Regions from separate parts of the Homo sapiens genome. Here region 1 is linked to region 2. Evidence: promoter capture Hi-C in human tissues and cell types (Jung and others, 2019). All regions are on one chromosome and are shown on one strand. Each heading gives the region's core, a stretch centred on a gene start or on the middle of the fragment in contact. The rest is flanking DNA. Distances are from core to core; before and after follow the strand shown. Region 1 holds the start of KMT2B (lysine methyltransferase 2B). Region 2 holds the start of FXYD1 (FXYD domain containing ion transport regulator 1).

Region 1 (6,357 bases), core at 1,288-3,787, 580 kb after region 2:
CCCCACCACTGGAGCCTGGCAGGAGGTCTGGCGGGAACAGAGGTGAGTGGCGGGGTCTAGTGCTCTGCCTCCAGGCTGGGAGGGCATGGCCCAGGAGGGGCAGCCCTGCTGGGTGGAAGGGCACTGCATCTCTACTGCACAGTTCCTGAGCTGGGGAAGAGACAAGAAGCTGCTGCCACAGGGCACGCCAAAGCCCAGCCCCCGGGGGAGGACTTGGGATACCCCCTCTTCACGAAGGGGCCAGGCTCCCAGGTTTAGCCAAGGCTGTAACTCTTCCCCACCCCATCCCAGGATCCCACTGTCCCTAAATGCCCCCAAAGGGCTCTGGAGCCAGAACCAGTTGGCCTCCTCCAGCCCTACCCCAGGTAAGCCCCTCGCTGTCCTGCATACACCTGTAACATGGTGTCTTCTCTGGGCTGGGGCTCGAGGAGTCCAGCCTGAGCAGGGCCCCTACCTCCCACTGTTCCTTCCAGGTTCCCTCCCCCAGGGCCCCGCACAGCTCAGCCCTGGGGAGATGGAAGAGTCTGATCAGGGGCACACAGGTGAGTCGGGCGGGGGCACTCGTGCCTCAGCCCCACTGTAGCCCTTGATTTCCTGCCTGAATGGTACAGTGAGTTGGCGCTGGGATTCCTGGCCCTGCCCTCCTTTGCCTTCTCTGTCCCCACAGGCGCACTTGCAACCTGTGCGGGTCATGAGGACAAGGCAGGCTGCCCACCTCGCCCGCACCCTCCCCCGGCCCCTCCTGCTCGGTCTCGGCCCTATGCGTGCTCTGTCTGTGGAAAGAGGTTTTCACTCAAGCATCAGATGGAGACGCACTACCGAGTCCACACAGGTATGGGCGCCCTGCCCTGTGTGAACTGTCGGCTTTCTTCCCAACTCCGCTCCTGAGTCTCCACCTGTGTGCCCGGTTCCCGCGCAATCCCCTAGCCCCGTGGCCCGATCCACCCCTAACTTGGCCAGCTTTCGCCGCCTTCTTCCTTCCTTCACCGGCCTCCCCTTCCGACCGCTCTAGGAGAGAAGCCCTTCTCCTGTAGCCTTTGTCCTCAGCGCTCCCGGGACTTCTCGGCCATGACCAAGCACCTGCGGACACACGGGGCCGCTCCGTACCGCTGCTCCCTGTGCGGGGCCGGCTGTCCCAGCCTGGCCTCCATGCAGGCGCACATGCGCGGTCACTCGCCCAGCCAACTCCCGCCCGGATGGACCATCCGCTCCACCTTCCTCTACTCCTCCTCGAGGCCGTCTCGGCCCTCGACCTCTCCCTGTTGTCCTTCTTCCTCCACCACCTGACGGGGTGTCGGTAGCGTCTTAGCCAAGAGTCCAATTAAAGAACGAAAAGCGGGCCGGCTCGGCTTCTGACCTGGCACCGCTGCTACGGCGGCCTAGCAAATTCCGCCCCAGAAGCGCCCCAGGAAGGGCGCCGAGTGCCCTCTCCTGGACGATCGCGGGTCGCAGAAGCCCAGGCCAGCGAGCCCTACAGAGTGAGGACACTGAAGTGTGCAGGAGCGAAGGTTAACAGTAGGGGAGATTGTCGATCTCATCACCATAATAAAGAGTTTCCTGTGCCCTCCCTTCAGGACTAGAAAGCCGAGTTTAGTCTGTGCACACCCCCGCCCACGCCCCTTGTCCTGTAGCGGCCCCTGGTGGCCCTGCGTCCGCTGTCCAGCGGGATGGACACTTCTTCCACCCCCGAGGCGCCCCGTCCTCCCCAGGAGGCAGCCGGCCCCGAGGACTCGGTGTCCGGGCACACCTTGCGGCATGCCGGTCCTGGACTGGTGGGGGCTGTGCGACCGCAAGTCACTCGCCCCTTCCACTGCAATCCACGGCGCGCGGAGTCTGATCTGGGAACGCTCGGCCCGGGAGAGAGAGGAACGCGTGCTCCGACCCTGCTTTCGGCCACCCGCCTCCTCTCCGGGAGCACACGGACCCCGAGACCGCGGCCTCTCCGGCGTCTTCCCTCCACACCGTGCCAAGCCGCCGCCAGGTCGCGCCTGGAACGGAGACTGACTATGCTTTCCACCGCTCCTTCTCCAGCCCACGCCTCCTGCAGCCGCGAACTGCATTTCCCAGGGCCTCGGGGGTCCCGGGGCCCGAGCCCGCGGCACCCTGGGAGTGGTAGTCCACGCGGGCCGCCGGCCTAGCCAAGAACAATGGGAGGAGCCTGGGGCTAGGACCACACCTCCCGGAGACCCGGCAACCCGCTTTCCGGGTCCTGGCCGGGAACCCCGCCGTCCCGGCCCTCGCGCCCTGGCTGCCGGCGGAAGAAGCGAGGCGTCCGGACTACATTTCCCGGAGGCCCCCGCGGTTCGCCCCTCTGCGGCCGCGACGCGGGGGTCTGTGCTCCCCAGGTGCGGTCCGAGGGCGCCGGCCGGCCGCGGACTCCCTCTCCCGTGGTGCCCTGCGCGTGGCCGGCCCGGCCCCCGGTCTCCCGCGGCGGCGCTGGTTGTTGTCGTGCGCCGCGGCCGCCCCGCCCCGCCCCCGCTCTCTCCCCTCCCCCCGGCCCTGCGCACGGGCCGCCCCTCCCCCCGCCTCCCCGGCCCCTCTCACGGTGCCAAGATGGCGGCGGCGGCGGGCGGCGGCAGTTGCCCCGGGCCTGGCTCCGCGCGGGGCCGCTTCCCGGGCCGGCCGCGGGGCGCCGGCGGGGGCGGGGGCCGCGGCGGACGGGGCAACGGGGCCGAAAGAGTGCGGGTAGCTCTGCGGCGCGGCGGTGGCGCGACGGGGCCGGGCGGAGCCGAGCCCGGGGAGGACACGGCCCTGCTCCGTTTGCTGGGGCTCCGCCGGGGCCTGCGCCGGCTCCGCCGCCTGTGGGCCGGCCCGCGGGTCCAGCGGGGCCGGGGACGGGGTCGGGGCCGGGGCTGGGGCCCGAGTCGAGGCTGCGTGCCGGAGGAGGAGAGCAGTGACGGGGAATCCGACGAGGAGGTGAGGCGGTTGGAGGCGTCCCCGGCGCCGGGTGGGGCGGAGGCCGGGGCTTCCAGGGGTCTGGGTTGTCCCGGGGGCGGCGTGGGCAGGCCGGGTCCTCAGGGTTCCTTCGGAGAGACGGGGCACGGAGGGAGGGCGGCTGCATGCAGCTTCCGGGGGAAAGGGCCTCTGGAAGTGGGTAGAGAAGCCCCGGCTGCAGCCAGGCACTCGCGCCCGATGTCGGTCCCGCTGAAGTGTCTTGGGCCGATCCTTTTCGGCAGCTGGCAAAGCTAGGGCGGTGGAGGTTTGGGCGAGGAGGCAGTGGGGACTGCATGTCCAGCCAGTCGTGGTTGACAGCGGCAGCGTGGCCTTGGCAGACAGGTTGGAGCTGTCTGGGCTCTTACCTGTGGGCCGCCCCGCCGGGCCTCGCAACCTCCTGGTTTCTCCAGGGCCCCAGTTTCTCTTGGCATCTCAGGTAGAGTGGTGGAGGGCTTCCTCTTGGGGCTCGGGTTGAACAGGAGTGGGATGAAGGCCGGGACTGGGCACTCTAGCAGGTCAGAGCTCAGCTCAGGATTTCTCCCCCAGCCTTTCAGAACAGGCAGGAAGGTGTGGGTTGCGTTGCCCTGGACGGTTAATAACAACCTGAGAGCTCGCAGTGGAGCCTGTACGAAAGCCATCTGATGCCCTCCCCGCCCCTTCACTTGCGGGCCCCTGTTCCCAACTTAATGCAGAAATAAATTGTGGCCCGAAAGGGTGTCAGTGGAGGTCCCACTTTGGTCTGAATTGGACTCTGAAGGAATCTGAGTATGGGGCCTGCTGCCTTTCCTGAGGAGACCCTGTCGTCTTCTCTCTTGGGCCAGTGAACCATGGCTTTGGCTGTGCTGGTGTGGTCCGGCACTGGGGATCGGAGTTCGAAATACCTGGCGCCTCCATCCCTAGGGAGAGACCCTCTCTTCCACTACCCGCGACCTTTGAGTCTTTTTCGTTCTTTTTAAATAGGCAGGGGTATGCTAAGTGGGAACTGGGGATATTCCTCGATACCTCAGATGGAACGAGGGCTTTGGCACTGACTGCTGTTTCTCCCCTCCACCCCGGTCCCCTAAATCAGGAGTTTCAGGGTTTTCATTCAGATGAAGATGTGGCCCCCAGTTCCCTGCGCTCTGCGCTCCGATCCCAGCGAGGTGAGTGACGGGGGAACTCCACCTCTTTAGCGTCACAGGAATTTATCCTCGCCCTTCGTGTCAGCTCTTCCCTGTTCAACTAGCCTCTGTCAGTTGCCGAATGTGTTCTGTGTTCAGAGTCCAAGCTAGTCTGGGCAGCGGGGGAAACACACAAGCAAGACTTAGTCCCTGCCCTCCTGGAGCGCCTTCCTCTGTGTGTAGGGCTGGCTTGATCCATCTCCCCACAACTATTCTCCTTTTAGGTCGAGCGCCCCGAGGTCGGGGTCGCAAGCATAAGACGACCCCCCTTCCTCCTCCTCGCCTAGCAGATGTGGCTCCTACCCCCCCAAAGACCCCTGCCCGGAAACGGGGTGAGGAAGGCACAGAACGGATGGTGCAGGCACTGACTGAACTTCTCCGGCGGGCCCAGGCACCCCAAGCACCCCGGAGCCGGGCATGTGAGCCCTCCACCCCCCGGCGGTCTCGGGGACGGCCCCCAGGACGGCCAGCAGGCCCCTGCAGGAGGAAGCAGCAAGCAGTAGTGGTGGCAGAAGCAGCTGTGACAATCCCCAAACCTGAGCCCCCACCTCCTGTGGTTCCAGTGAAACATCAGACTGGCAGCTGGAAATGCAAGGAGGGGCCCGGTCCAGGACCTGGGACCCCCAGGCGTGGAGGACAGTCAAGCCGTGGAGGCCGTGGAGGCAGGGGCCGCGGCCGAGGTGGTGGGCTCCCCTTTGTGATCAAGTTTGTTTCAAGGGCCAAAAAAGTAAAGATGGGACAATTGTCCTTGGGACTCGAATCAGGTCAAGGTCAAGGTCAACATGAGGAAAGTTGGCAGGATGTCCCCCAAAGAAGAGTTGGATCTGGACAGGGAGGGAGCCCTTGCTGGAAAAAGCAGGAACAGAAGCTGGATGACGAGGAAGAAGAGAAGAAAGAAGAAGAAGAAAAAGACAAGGAGGGAGAAGAGAAGGAAGAAAGAGCTGTAGCTGAGGAGATGATGCCAGCTGCGGAAAAGGAAGAGGCAAAGCTGCCACCACCGCCTCTGACTCCTCCAGCCCCTTCACCTCCTCCACCCCTCCCACCCCCTTCGACATCTCCTCCACCCCCACTCTGCCCTCCACCACCACCCCCAGTGTCCCCACCACCTCTACCATCCCCTCCACCGCCTCCTGCCCAAGAGGAGCAGGAGGAATCCCCTCCTCCTGTGGTCCCAGCTACGTGCTCCAGGAAGAGGGGCCGGCCTCCCCTGACTCCCAGCCAGCGGGCGGAGCGGGAAGCTGCTCGGGCAGGGCCAGAGGGCACCTCTCCTCCCACTCCAACCCCCAGCACCGCCACGGGAGGCCCTCCGGAAGACAGTCCCACCGTGGCCCCCAAAAGCACCACCTTCCTGAAGAATATCCGGCAGTTTATTATGCCTGTGGTGAGTGCCCGCTCCTCCCGTGTCATCAAGACACCCCGGCGATTTATGGATGAAGACCCCCCCAAACCCCCAAAGGTGGAGGTCTCACCTGTCCTGCGACCTCCCATTACCACCTCCCCACCTGTTCCCCAGGAGCCAGCACCAGTCCCCTCTCCACCACGTGCCCCAACTCCTCCATCTACCCCAGTTCCACTCCCTGAGAAGAGACGGTCCATCCTAAGGGAACCCACATTTCGCTGGACCTCACTGACCCGGGAGCTGCCCCCTCCTCCCCCAGCCCCTCCACCTCCCCCGGCCCCCTCCCCACCCCCTGCTCCTGCCACCTCCTCCCGGAGGCCCCTACTCCTTCGGGCCCCTCAGTTTACCCCAAGCGAAGCCCACCTGAAGATCTACGAATCGGTGCTTACTCCTCCTCCTCTTGGGGCTCCTGAAGCCCCTGAGCCAGAGCCTCCTCCTGCCGATGACTCTCCAGCTGAGCCTGAGCCTCGGGCAGTGGGCCGCACCAACCACCTCAGCCTGCCTCGATTCGCCCCTGTGGTCACCACTCCTGTTAAGGCCGAGGTGTCCCCTCACGGGGCTCCAGCTCTGAGCAACGGGCCACAGACACAGGCTCAGCTACTGCAGCCCCTGCAGGCCTTGCAAACCCAGCTCCTGCCCCAGGCACTACCGCCACCACAGCCACAGCTGCAGCCACCGCCGTCACCACAGCAGATGCCTCCCCTGGAAAAAGCCCGGATTGCGGGCGTGGGTTCCTTGCCGCTGTCTGGGGTAGAGGAGAAGATGTTCAGCCTCCTCAAGAGAGCCAAAGTGCAGCTATTCAAGATCGATCAGCAGCAGCAGCAGAAGGTGGCAGCTTCCATGCCGGTGAGTGTGGTCCCTGGG
Region 2 (5,816 bases), core at 2,427-4,926:
CCCACCTCCCTTCTCCCCGAAGGTTTGGGAAAGGGGTTCGCTGGACACCCGGCACACCCGGCAGAGTAGGATGGGAAGGAGGAGGGGGTCAGAGGCCATGAGAAGGTCGGCCTTGGGGGAAGGGACTGGACAGCCCCACAGGAGGGGGAGGGGCCACCAAGGGCTGGAGCCGCCCCACCACTCCCGCCAGCCCCCTCCCCAGATTCCCCACTCAACCCTATTGGGGGAGCAGGAGGACGATGTCACCAGGGTGGGGACCAGATGGCTCTGCATTCTGGAGCAGGGTGGGAGGAGAGGCCCTGGGGGGGCTGGGGACATCCCGTCCTGGCCACTCTCTGCCAGCCCCCTCCCCTGGCTACAGGAGGGTGTGTTGGGCGCTGTCAGTGGGGCCAGATCACGTCCAGCTGCTCCCTCTGGTGGTCATACTCGGCAGGACCTCTGCCCGGCCCCAAGCCCTTAGCCTCCCTCCCCTACCCTGAAATTAACCCTCTAGTGGCCAACACCCACTGGGGGACAGCACCAACCCGAGGACATGATGATGATGAAGATGATGATGATGGTGAAGATGATGATGATGATGCCACCCCTTCTTCAGCGTCTACTCTGAGCCTGGCCTTGTCCTAAAAGCTCATCTATTAACTCATTCTGATCTTGCCAAAGCCCTCTGAAGTTAGTGCTGTCATCATCACCACTTTACAGCTGGAGGAAGTGGAGACAGAGGTCAGGGAACCTGAACTCTAGGTTACCCAGCTGAGGGCACAGCCGGGATTCAAACCCAGGCATCCGGCTCCAGGTTATTTTGCATTCTTTCTTTGGAGATCAGAGTTCATGGATAGATGGATAATTGGTTGTTTTAATCTGGACTAAATTTTAGTCATTTGGATAGATTCTGTCCACTAAATAAGAAACATAAGTAAATGACACTTGTTAGCTAAGATGAAATAGTAGTAATGTTTATACTCACTCAGCCTTCACAGCCACCCTGTGAGATGGGCAGTACTGCTATCCCTGCTTTACAGATGGGGAAACTGAGGCACAGGGAAGTTATGTGATTAGTTTCCTGGCTCTAGTCAGCTCTAAACCTAACCCCTAGGCTGTACCACCTCATCGCCTGGGGACGAGACTCATCCTGTGATTGAGGAATGCATGCAGCCTCTCTTGACACTGACGCCCACGCCCAGAAGCCTCGTTGGAGGATAAGGGGGCTTAACAGCTTGGAGGTCATGCAGATCTGGGTTCCAGGCCCAGTCCTGTGTGGCCTCAGTTTTCCCATCTGTCAAACGGGGACAATCGTGGCACCCGCTTCCCAGTTGTGGAGAGGACTCAGGTGATGGAGGCAACTCATCCTTTTGGGGTTCAGCACAAGGTGGGCATCCCACAGTGGTCGGCAAGCTTGGGGGTGGGCTCCGGATCCAGCTCCTAGAGGAGCAGACCCCAGCAGCTTGTGGTTTGAGCCATGCCCGTCAGCTCTCAGTTTCCTTCACTGACTATTGGGTATGATAAACAGGGTCCCTGAAAGTGAAGTTGGAGAGCTGAGTGCCAGGGGCACAGAGGGATCTGAACCCACTCTCATAGGGTGCCCAGCCCAGCAGTCCAGTTCACAAGGAGGAGGATGACAAGGACAATAATAATAGGCCAGGCACGGTGGCTCATTTCTGTAATCCCACATTTTGGCAGGCTGAAGTGGGAGGATCGCTTGGGGCCAGGAGTTCAAGACAAGCCTGGGCAACATAGAGAAACCCCGACTGTACAAAAAATTAAAAAATTAGCCAGGCATGGTGTCGCACGCCCATAGTCCCAGCTACTCAGGAAGCTGAGGTGGGAGAATCACTTGAGCCCATGAGGTTGAGGCTACAGTGAGCTATGATTGTGCCATTGCACTTCAGCCTGGGTGACAGAGCAAGACCCGGTCTCAAACAAACAAACAAAAAATGAAGTTAATCATAAGACAATGTCAAGTTCAGAGACCTCTGAGCCCTGTCCAGGATTATACACGTGATCTTAGTGATTTTTCCATTTTGGAGCATGTGAAAATGAGGCACAGAGCTGCTCAAGTTCACACAACCAGGAGTGCAGTGCCTGGGCCATTCCAGGTTTCCCTGTCACCAGGACCTGTAAACCTGGCCTGCCCATGGGGACGCCAGGTGTGTTGTCCCCGACAAGAGCTCAGGGGAAGGAAAGTGTGGGGTTAAATACATATCTGTGGTTTTGGAATGTGTGAACATGCAAGTGTGTCAGCCTGCGCATCTGTCACCGTGGCCAACCATGTGCCTGTTTGCTCAAGCATAGGGTGTGAACCAGTGTGTGTGTTTCTGCTTTTGTGGGTATGTGTGAGAGCGGCGGGTTGTCCTTGATGGTGTTTCTGCTTGTGTATCTGTGCCCATGGAAATCTGTCTGTGTGTACACAAGCTTGTTGGCCTTCCTATCTTTGGGACCATGTAGGAGTGCTGGCTGCATGTCTGTACCTTTGGGGTTTTTTTGTTTTGTTTTTGTTTTTGAGACAGAGTCTCGCTCTGTTGCCCAGGCTAGAGTGCAGTGGCATGATCTCAGCTCACTGCAAGCTCTGCCTCCCGGGCTCAAGTGACTCTCCTGCCTCAGCCTCCGGAGTAGCCGTGATTACAGGCGCACGCCACCACACCCAGCTAATTTTTGTATATTTTTTTAGTAGAGACGAGCTCTCGTCGGGTTGGCCAGGCTGGTGTTGAACTCCTGGCCTCAAGTGATCCTCCCGCCTTGGCCTCCCAAAGTGCTGGGAGTACAGGTGTGAGCCACCGTACCTGGCCATGTTTGGCCATGCATCTTAGAATGCATTTATGTGCGGTGTGCACATACTTGTGTGTTTCTGTATGGCCATTTGTGGGTGGGTCTTCACATAAACATGCATTTTTGTGGCCAGTTTGTGAGTGTAGATGGTGATGTGGCTATGTCTTTGACTGTATCTCTGTGTGGCCATCCATCTACATGAGCGTGCGTGGGTCTGTGTAGACATAAATGTGCTTGTTCTGGTATTTTGTGACTGGCATAAAAGGTGTTGGCTGTGTGTCCGGGTCTTTGGGTTTCTCTATCAGTGTGTCATTCTGTGTGTGTCTGCTTCTATGGATGTACATACATACATGGTTTTGTCTGGTTTTGTACCTGTATATCTGGGTCTTTGGGATTGTGTGTGGGTGTGTGTGTGTGGTGCATTTCTGGGGATCTCACCACAGCAGATAGCGCACATGCGCGCGCACACACACACACACACACACACCTCCCTCCCGTCCTCTAAAACAGCCCTGTTAAGGACCTCACGGAGCACTGGGATCGGGGGTCAGTGGGCTCCTGGGCAGTCAGGCTGGGTGACCTTCGGCCCTGGCTGGACCCAGTTCCCAGGGGGCAGCCGCCTCAGCCCAAAAGCTCTTGGAGGCGTGTGTGTTTGTGTGTGTGTGTGTTCACAACCCTGTCCTCCACAATCCTCCTAGCCTCTCCAGCCTGCCTGCTGGCTGCCTGCTGCTGCTCTCTCTGAACTGAGAGAGTTAACCAAGCGGGCCAGGGCAGTCTGGGCTGGGGGCCGCCCCCTGGCCCCCCTCCAGCCCCAGCTCCAGTTTCAGCTGCTGGTTGGGGAGGGCATGGGTGGGGTGGGGCTGGGAGGGGAGGCTGCTGGGGGCGGCGCGTCCAGCTCTGGGCCAGGGGGTCCAAAGTGCTCAGCCCCCGGGGCACAGCAGGACGTTTGGGGGCCTTCTTTCAGCAGGGGACAGCCCGATTGGGGTGAGCGTCCCCCACTCCTTCCCTCCAGGCCTCACCCCTGGTCTGGCTGGGCCGCCTATTTTGGGAGCAGGAGTGGCCAGCCCGAGGCTTCCCAGGCAGGCCAACCCAAGAGGGAGGGAGTGTGGTTGAGGCAGTGGGTTCTGCAGGGTGGGATGTGGGTGACTCCTCCCTGCCCTGCTGGTGCGTGTGCACCCTGGCAGGGTGTGGAGTTGGGACACACACGTGTGTAGGGCTGGTTGCGTCACTGCGTGGGGGCACCGGAGGCCCAGAGGAGGAGTATTGGATGCCTGACGGTGTTTACACCCCACGTCCTGCTCCAACCAGCAGTTTGGGGAGAGGTTGTTGTTCATGTCCATTCCGGCCCCACTGTGTGTGTGTGTGTGTGTGTGTGTGTGTGTGTGTGTGTGTATCCCTGCCCCAGCATGTGTTTTCTATCTCTAAGGCCCACTGGGCTGGGCCTCATGTCACTTGCCTGACATCCGATTGTGAAAGATGTCACCCAGAGGCGGGCAGAGGGGCTGTCTTTTCCTTTTCTCGTTGCTGCCCAGGGAGGAGACGGGGTGACCTTTCCCACAGGGGCAGCCTGTGGCGATGTGGCAGCTGGGCCTCACCCCGGCAGGGCTGTGCGTGACCCCCTGAGTGGGGGAAGGCAGGCTGTTGCCATGGTGGCCTGAGCGAGCAGAATTCCTCCAGGGTGAAGTGGGAGATATTTATACCCGGGGTCAGGCCGCGAGCGGGCGGGCGGAGAGGGCAGGGAGCTGGGATTTCGCGGGGCACAGTGAGGCCGGGCATGTAGGCAGGTGGGACTTGGGCGTGCCCTGCTGTCTCCTGCTCTGTGTTTGTGTGAGGCAGCGCCTCCTCTGCCCTGCCAGGGTAGGTCTGGGAATCGGGGGCCTGCTGCGGGAGGTGGAGGCCCAAGGGAGGCCCCCCGGGGACTGTGTGTCTCACCCCCGTCCCTGCTACGTTGTGTTGTTGTGTGATCCCATCGTGGAGGTTGTTTTGGTGACACTGTGTCCCCACGAAGCTGGGGATACCCGTTTCTCTAGCTTGGAGCCACCAAGATAGAGGACAAACACTTCTGTGATTCAGTCCCCAGACTGTCTCTGACTTAATCCCTTGGGTTCAAGCCCTATGTGGGAGAGCAAGGGCACACACTGCCTAATCCGTGGTGTCCCCCCCAGGACAATGGCGTCTCTTGGCCACATCTTGGTTTTCTGTGTGGGTCTCCTCACCATGGCCAAGGCAGGTGAGTGCAGGGGAGGCTGCCCGCTACCCACCTCAGCCCCAGGGGTGGCGGTGGGGACCGAAGAACCAAGTTGGAGACCCCAACCTAGACTAAGTCGGCTGGGGTACCAAGAAGTTTGGGGGTCTCCACGTGGGGTCCAGTCACAGGCTGGTATTTGGGGGAGGGGAGAGGAAGCCCCAGATCAGGCAAAGATGGGGTGGGATGGGGCTGAATCCCCGATGGGATAACTGGGTCACAGACAGCCTGCCGTGAGTCAGGGAGCTGGGGCAGTTAGGTGCCACCTGCCCCATCTGGGACAGTGCAGAGGGGGCAGCTGGGACCCAGAGAGTGTGGGCAGCCTGCCCAGACACCCTCAGACTCTAAGCCCAGCAAGGCAGAGCCTCCAGTGGTCTCCTCATGCCCCTCCCTGCCAGGACCCCAGGAAGCATTCAACCCCTGATTTCTCTCTCTTTCCAGAAAGTCCAAAGGAACACGACCCGTTCACTTACGGTGAGCGGGGGGTCTAATTTTGAGTCCTGGGGGAGAGCCTGGCTTTGCTGGTCCTTTGATTCCCCCTCGCCCTCCCCCAGAGTCCCAGTATTGATATCTCTGTCATTCTCCTTCCCTCTATTTTGTCCTTCCTCTCTGATTCCACCTGTCTGCATCTTTTCCTGTCTGTGTCTATCTGTGTCACTGTCTATGTGATACCTCTCTGGTTCTCTTTCTCTTGCCTGCGTCTGTCTCAGCATCTCGTGGCCCATCCTCTGCTTCTTCCCGTCTTCTCTCCCCCCTGTCCTCCTCCTCCCTGTCCCCTCCCTCCCTTTCCTATACACCCCTTTCCTCT

Evidence for each region. Contacts are between HindIII fragments. The study calls those that stand out against the background at their distance.
Region 1: the fragment with the promoter of KMT2B here is called in contact with the fragment with the promoter of FXYD1 in region 2 in 1 of the 25 tissues and cell types used here (mesendoderm cells).

What each region holds. Positions count from the first base shown.
Region 1 is chr19:35,715,466-35,721,822 of GRCh38, forward strand. KMT2B (lysine methyltransferase 2B) reads left to right here and starts at 2,538. Exons shown (of 37, transcript NM_014727.3): 1 at 2,538-2,916; 2 at 4,004-4,076; 3 at 4,319-6,339. The coding sequence starts at 2,554. ZBTB32 (zinc finger and BTB domain containing 32) reads left to right here. Exons shown (of 7, transcript NM_014383.3): 3 at 1-42; 4 at 292-365; 5 at 474-542; 6 at 668-832; 7 at 1,013-1,573. The coding sequence ends at 1,287. RefSeq lists enhancers at 1,091-1,650, 1,203-1,482, 2,770-3,327 and silencers at 2,053-2,532, 2,613-2,662, 2,683-2,752, 2,793-2,872, 2,923-2,972. The HindIII fragment of the contact is 20,092 bases long and covers 1-6,357 here.
Region 2 is chr19:35,135,148-35,140,963 of GRCh38, forward strand. FXYD1 (FXYD domain containing ion transport regulator 1) reads left to right here and starts at 3,677. Exons shown (of 8, transcript NM_021902.4): 1 at 3,677-3,747; 2 at 4,929-4,993; 3 at 5,450-5,482. The coding sequence starts at 4,933. The HindIII fragment of the contact is 30,870 bases long and covers 1,901-5,816 here.